Linked DNA regions of Homo sapiens: region 2 is linked to region 1. The links are contacts of gene promoters, found by promoter capture Hi-C in human tissues and cell types (Jung and others, 2019). All regions are on one chromosome and are shown on one strand. Each heading gives the region's core, a stretch centred on a gene start or on the middle of the fragment in contact. The rest is flanking DNA. Distances are from core to core; before and after follow the strand shown.

Evidence for each region. The method cuts DNA at HindIII sites, captures the fragments that hold promoters and counts their contacts. A contact is called where the count stands out against the background at its distance.
Region 2: a contact is called between a fragment that was not itself captured here and the fragment with the promoter of INSM1 in region 1, in 1 of the 25 tissues and cell types used here (IMR-90 fibroblasts).

What each region holds. Positions count from the first base shown.
Region 1 is chr20:20,366,636-20,369,771 of GRCh38, reverse strand. INSM1 (INSM transcriptional repressor 1) reads right to left here and starts at 1,668. Exons shown (of 1, transcript NM_002196.3): 1 at 1-1,668. The coding sequence starts at 1,504. RefSeq lists an enhancer at 1,805-2,575. The HindIII fragment of the contact is 4,823 bases long and covers 1-3,136 here.
Region 2 is chr20:19,694,442-19,697,577 of GRCh38, reverse strand. It overlaps SLC24A3 (solute carrier family 24 member 3), which reads right to left. Exons shown (of 17, transcript NM_020689.4): 14 at 667-781. Among named protein-coding and RNA genes, the nearest start is that of RIN2, 62 kb to the left of the region's middle. The HindIII fragment of the contact is 5,354 bases long and covers 1-3,136 here.

The DNA of each region.
Region 1 (3,136 bases), core at 419-2,918:
GGAGGATCACCTGTCTGTTTTCGGATGGGTGGCACTTGTTGATGTGCCGCGTAAGGCCGGGCGAGCTGTAGAAGGTGGCCGGGCAGTACTTGCAGGGGAACACCTGGGCGGCGTGCAGCAGGCGCAGGTGGCGCTCCTGAGCGCCCTTGCTGGCGAACGACTCTCCGCACACTGGGCACAGGTGGCACTCGGCGGACGCACTCAGGCCCAGCACGCCGGCCCCCTCGCCGTCGCCGGCCGCCTCCTGGGGCGCCTTCTCGTCGGGCCCGGGGTACAAGGCCAGTAGGTCCTCGGCCGGGGGCGCTAGCGGCGCGCCCTTGGCCTGCAGCGCCTGGTGGTGCGCCAGCAGGTGCTTGCGTAGGTAGGCCTGGCGGCGGAACTTCTTGGCGCAGTGATGGCACTCGTAGAGCCCGTCCTCGGAGCCCGACTCGGACACGCCGCCGGGGCTCGGCGTGTCCCGGTCGCTGCCGCCGCCGGGTGCCTCCCGCGCCTCAGCCCTGGCTGCTGCTTCTGGCTCCGGCGCGCGGGCGGCGGCGGGCGCGGGCCGCGGTTTGTGCCAGCGGCGGTGCGAGGCCAGGTTGGCCGGGCAGCTGAAGACCTTGGCGCACTCGGGACAGCGGTACTCCACACGCACGATGCGCGAGCATTTGTGCTGCGCCAGCGCGAACGGGTCGGCGTACTCCTCCTTGCACAGCTGGCAGATGAACTCGCCCAGCGGCCGCGCCGCGCCCCCCGCGCGGCCCCGCGGCGCCTCCACCGGGCCCTCCTTGATCTTGAGCCCCAGCACGGGCGACGTGGTCACCTCGTCCTCGAAGTGCAGCTTGCGGATGGCCTTGGGCTTCTTGGCGCCCGGGGCCTTGACTGCCTTGGCGGGCGGCTCCGCGGCGGTAGGGGGCGGGGGCCGCTTTCCCGGGGGCCGCAGGGCGGCGGCAGGGGGCAGTGGGGGGCCGGGGCCCGGGCCGCGGGCCGCCTCGGCGCCAGCCGAGAACGCCGTGCCCATCTTGAGCTCGGCGGGCGCGAAGAGCAGCGGGTCGCCGCCGCAGGTGCCGCCTCCGCCAGCTCCGCTCGCGCCGCCGCCGCCGCCCCCTCCGAGCAGCGCGGCGGGCGTGGGGAAGGACTCGGCCGAGACCGGCGAGCCCAGGTTGAAGCTGCGTTCGAAGTACTTGTGCTTCTCGTGCTCGCGGCTCACGGGCCGCGTGGGACTGTAGAGCGGCGCGGGGTGCGCAGCCTCGGGGTTGCCGAAGTGCGCGGCCCGCGGGCCCTGCGGGGGTGGCTGCGGCCCAGGCGCGCAGGCAAGCGCGGCGGCGAGCGCTGCATGGGCGCGCTCCGCGGGCGGCGGCGGCGGCAGCGGCCCGGGGACCGGGCTCGGCGCCGGGGGCTCGGCGCGGGCGCCCCCGCAGCTGGGCGAGAGCAGCAGTGCGCGGTCGCCGTCCTCGCCGCCGCGGACCCGGTAGGAAACGGGCGTGGACTTCTTGCTGCGCTTCACCAGGAAGCCGCGGGGCATGTTGGCGCGGCCCGAGGGCACGGCACTGGCTCGGTCCCCCCTCCGCGCTCGGCCCCGGCGGCCCTCAGTGCCCCCGGCCCATTGCCCGGGCGCGGCGGCTGCGGGACTCGCGTGGCGCCGGCGACGGCTCGGCCCAGCTCTGCGCCCTGCACGCGCGTCCCTGTCCCCGGGCCCGGCAGCCGCTCCCTTTTAACGGGGGGAGGGGGCCATTGTTCTCGCCTCCCGCTTCCCCTGGAGCCAATCAGCGCGTCCGCAGCTCCTCAGCCTGGCAGGGTGGGAGGGCGATGGGGCGGCCAAAAGGGGGCCGGGACTCGGGGGTCGCCCGGTAGGTGCGGCAGATGTACCTGAGGGCGCGGGGCCCCCGCGCGCGCCCCTGGTCGCCCCGCCCGGCGCCGCCGCCCCGCCCGGTCCAGGCACACGCCCGGCCCCGCCTCCCTTCACGGTCTGCTGCTTCTCTATGGGGAGGCGCACGTGCCTGGGCTTTGTGTCTCTCCTCCGGGGGGCGCGGAGCCGCCAAATGGGCCCGTCCATCAGCGCGACAATGCACGCCCCCCTCCCGCGCGGGGATTACCCGCGGGTCGCTAGCAAAATAGCAACAAAGGAGAAGAATGGCCCCAAATATGTCAGGAGGGTTCAATCCGCGAGCCGGAGCCGAGGGGGAAGTTGTGCGCGCTGATTGGGTGGGGGCGGGGGCGCGCCGGGGCGGTGCGGGGGAGATCGTTGCGGAGGCGCAGTGGCTCCGCGTGGTGTTTGGGAAATAAACAAGAATCCGAGAGAGCAGCAGGGTCCGGACGGCCTCCGCCCGGACCTTGGACGGATGGGCCGCTGGACCCAAGAGGCCAAGCAAAAGGGTTCCCCGGGGTTCCAAGTGTGGACAGGGGGCCCGGCCTTCTGGCAGTGGCCGAGGGCGATGTTTGTGCTCGCAGCCTCCGCGCGCCCACGGGGCTAGAGAAGGTTTCTTTCGAGTTTGAGAAGGAATTGGCACGGCCTTCTCAGTCTCCCGAAAGCGCGGGATTGGAGCGCGGGCGGGCTGGGCTGGGTTCCCAGAGGAACGTGAATTTCTGAACTTTTGGGTTCTTGGAGGCTTGGGAATGGCATCTTTGGCGGGGCCCGACCCAGGCCGCCCGGAGCTTCCGCGTGGTCCAAGGCTCGGTTAATCCGGGTCGAGTTGGCCGAAGCCCGAAACGCGCGGTCGGCCTCGTGCGCCCCAGTGAAGTTGGCTTTCTCCTCCCCGCGCGGCCTCATGCATTTTCATTCCGAGCGGGCATTTTGTTTGCCGGTTGACATCAGATGCTAAATCAAGGGCTCCAATCAAGGCGCTGCGAAATAAAGGGGCTGCCTGTCTGGGCGCAGCCCCCACGGAGCCGTGCCCCCTTCACCTTTGTGAAGGAAATTAACCTCCTGCTATTGAGCTCCGGTCGCGGCCAATCTGGACGCAAAAGAGACGCGTGCTGGACGGGGGGAGGGGGGGCAATCTGTACTCTGAGGCAGGCTGAGGCCTCCGAGAGGACAAGCCGCCTCCCCTGTGCCACCAGGAAGAGACAACAGCGAAGATTCCCCCCGCCCCCACCCCCACCCCCACCTCCGCTGCCGTTCCGTTTGGACCCAGACTGGGCCGCCTGCCTCCATCCT
Region 2 (3,136 bases), core at 266-2,765, 670 kb after region 1:
GGAAGGTAAGCTGTGAGCCTGTGAGCTTGGCTTTGAAGGAGGGAAGGATCTGTCACACTCTGAAAACTGACCTCTGGGACCTGTCACTTAGAGGGCACTGCAGGTGGGTCAGCCTTAGGGATGAGGTTTGTCCTCTCTAAGCCTCAATTTTCTTGTCCATAAAATGGGGGTATGATTGTGCTTATTTCACAGAGCTGTTGTTTAAATCAAATAAGATAGTGCATCTATCATGTTTTACTCAGTAAAGGTTAGCTGTCAGTACATTTCCTACTACTTTGAATAATAGGAGGATGGTGATACAGCCTCCAGAAGGGGCTATGGGTGCTACCTAGGAAATGTCTTTGCTTTCCTCAAGGGTAGGACCTTCTGGATTATTTCTCTGTTCTTCTGAGCCCAGGAAACCTTTCAACCAACACGGCATCACCCTCCCTCCTTCCAAACCCTGTTAATTACCAGGTGGGTCCCCCAGGTAGAGAGGCCCGCCTGCCCGCCTGACTTCCTCCCTTCCTTCCTTCTTTCCTTCACTCCCTCCCTCCCTCTTTCCTTCTCTTCTCCCTCCCTTTCTCTTCTCCCTCCTGCCTTCCTTCCCTCCCTCCCTCCCTCCCTTCTTCCCTCCCTCTCCTCCTCCCTCCCTCCCTCCTTCCCCATTGCCACTGGAAGTCCCACCTTGTCTGGCCACAATGAGGCTGGCCATGCAGTCAGGCACGCTGGTCCCAGCAGCCAGGAAGGTGATCCCCATGATGACGTCAGGAATCCCCAGGGTGTAACCAATGATTGTGACCTAGAAGGAGCAGGAAGAGGTGGTCAGCTGAGGGTCACCTCAAGCCCCACCTGCCCATGATTCTTCTGATGGAGACTCACAACAGGCTATGGTCTGGGCTATCTCTGTGGGGTGCAATGTCTGCTCTCTGTATCAATACAGAGGGTGACAAACACTATGTGGATGCCGACCGGGGCTGCAGGTCAGGGGACGGTGCTGTAATAGGACCCAAACTTTCCAACAAAACATTGGCCTTTTCACTTGTTCTCTTCCGGTGAGGCGGGTGGTTTGAGAAGAGAAAATAGAATTTCTGGGAAAAAGGCAATATTGGGACAGAATATTTGAACTACGGGTGGCCCTGAGGCATCCAGAATGGATGGATGCTTTGCTTGGAATTTGAGCGTCCATGTCAGGGAGGATGCACAATGGGAATTTAGAAGAACTGCAAAGGGGCTGGATTTGACAGTATCCATACTTGTTAGAAAAGGCATAACTCTAAGGTTGGGCACGGTGGCTCAGGCCTGTAATCCTATCACTCTGGGAGGCCAAGTTGAGAGGATTGCTTAAGTTCAAAAGTTCTAGACCAGCGTGAGCAACATAGTGAGACCTTGTCTCCACAAAAAATTTTAAAAATTAGCTGGGCATGGTGGTGTATGTCTGTGGTCCCAGCTCCTTGAGAGGCTGAGGCAGGAGGATGGCTTGAGCCCAGGAGGTTCAGGCTGCGATGAGCTGTGATAGTGCCATTGTACTCCAGCCTCGGCAACACAGTGAGACCCTGTCTCACAAAAAAAAAAAAAAAAAAGAAAAGGAAAAAAAGGGGAAAGCCATAACTAGCATTTCCTTTTCTCTATTCCTTGAAGCTTGGTAGCAATTTGCTGTCCTTGTCAACATCTTCTTCACTATAATAGCTTCTGGGGACCATCATCTTAAGTGAAACAGCTCAGACACAGAAAGTCAAACTCCACATGTTCTCACTCATAAGTGGGTGCTACGTAATGTGTACACTTGGACATGGGGTGTGGAATGATAGGCAATGGAGTCTTGGAAGGATTGGGGGCAGAAATGTTGTGTTTCTACATCTCAATTTCCTCCCTGGAGACTGAAAAACAGGAAGGCCAGAGGCCACCTCAGTTTAAATTCAGCACGGAATGAAGTGGGGTGGGTGACGAGAAATTACTTAATGGGTACGATGAACATTATTTCAGTCATGGATACACTAAAGTCAGGACTTCGTCACTTCCATCACACAATATATCCATGTAACAAATTTACTTGTACCGCTTAAATTTATGCAAATATAGAAAAAGCAAATGCAAGCATGCTTAAAAAAACAAAAGCAGTTGATGAGGCAGATGATGAGGGAGCTGGTGGCAAAAAAAGAGGTAAGTGGAAAAAGAGACACATTCCCTGCATGTGGGCCCAAGGAGAAGATAACTCACAAGAGTTGAAACTGTCAGGTCATTTTAGGATGCCACTGGATCTCCCTCACTTGCCATAAAATTACAGGAAATGCAAAGCACATGTTGTAAGGAGCACATTCTTCTCACAGTTCCTCCTGGGCCAGCCCTTGAGAGACACCTACACCCGGAACCCTGACTTCACTCCAAAGGCCACAATCGCTCCTTCCCTGTTCAAAGATTGGGGGGATGTGAGTGAAATCCATAGAGATGCTTGCCTTGCCTCCTTTCAGACAGAGAATGCAGCTCATTTCTGTTCAGTACTGAGCAGAACTGAACAGAATTTAACCTGGGGTGGCCACAGGGCTTTCTGACTTCCGGTCTCCAGGGAGGAAAGTGAGCTGCAGAAACACACGCTGTTTCTATTTTGTCGCTCTGGATCAAATGGAGCTACCAGCGTCCTGGCCAAACCTTGTTTTTCCTTTTTAACCCTCAGCTCAGTCCCTGTAGGAACCTGGTTTGGCTCAGCCAGTCTTGGCCTCTGGTTCATCATTTTCATGATCATGTTTGTGGCTGGGTCTGGAGTTCAGGGGAGCAGACTGCTCAGGTGGCTGGGACCAGGTCTCCGGCTTCTCCTAGTTTTCTCCCTACTCCTGGGCATTGATTGGGACTTATTAGAACCTCCACTGGAGGAAAAGGAAGCAAACAGAAGGAAGTTGAACCTCAGATGAGTCAGGTCAGTTAGCCCGCTGGTTAGGGGGCTGCACAGAAAATCATGTAGCACCTTAAGGTCAGGGACAGCCAACACTGTCCCCCAAATCCAGATAGGAGGTGGCTCTTGGTGCATATGTCAGATGAAAACATTAGTGAATGCAGGATGAGGGAGAAACCCCTGGCTATAAAACTTGGGTTTTAAAAAAATGTTTGTGATATTGAGGAAAGAGATGATTATGAATTAGTTGTGTCAGGTTTACAAATT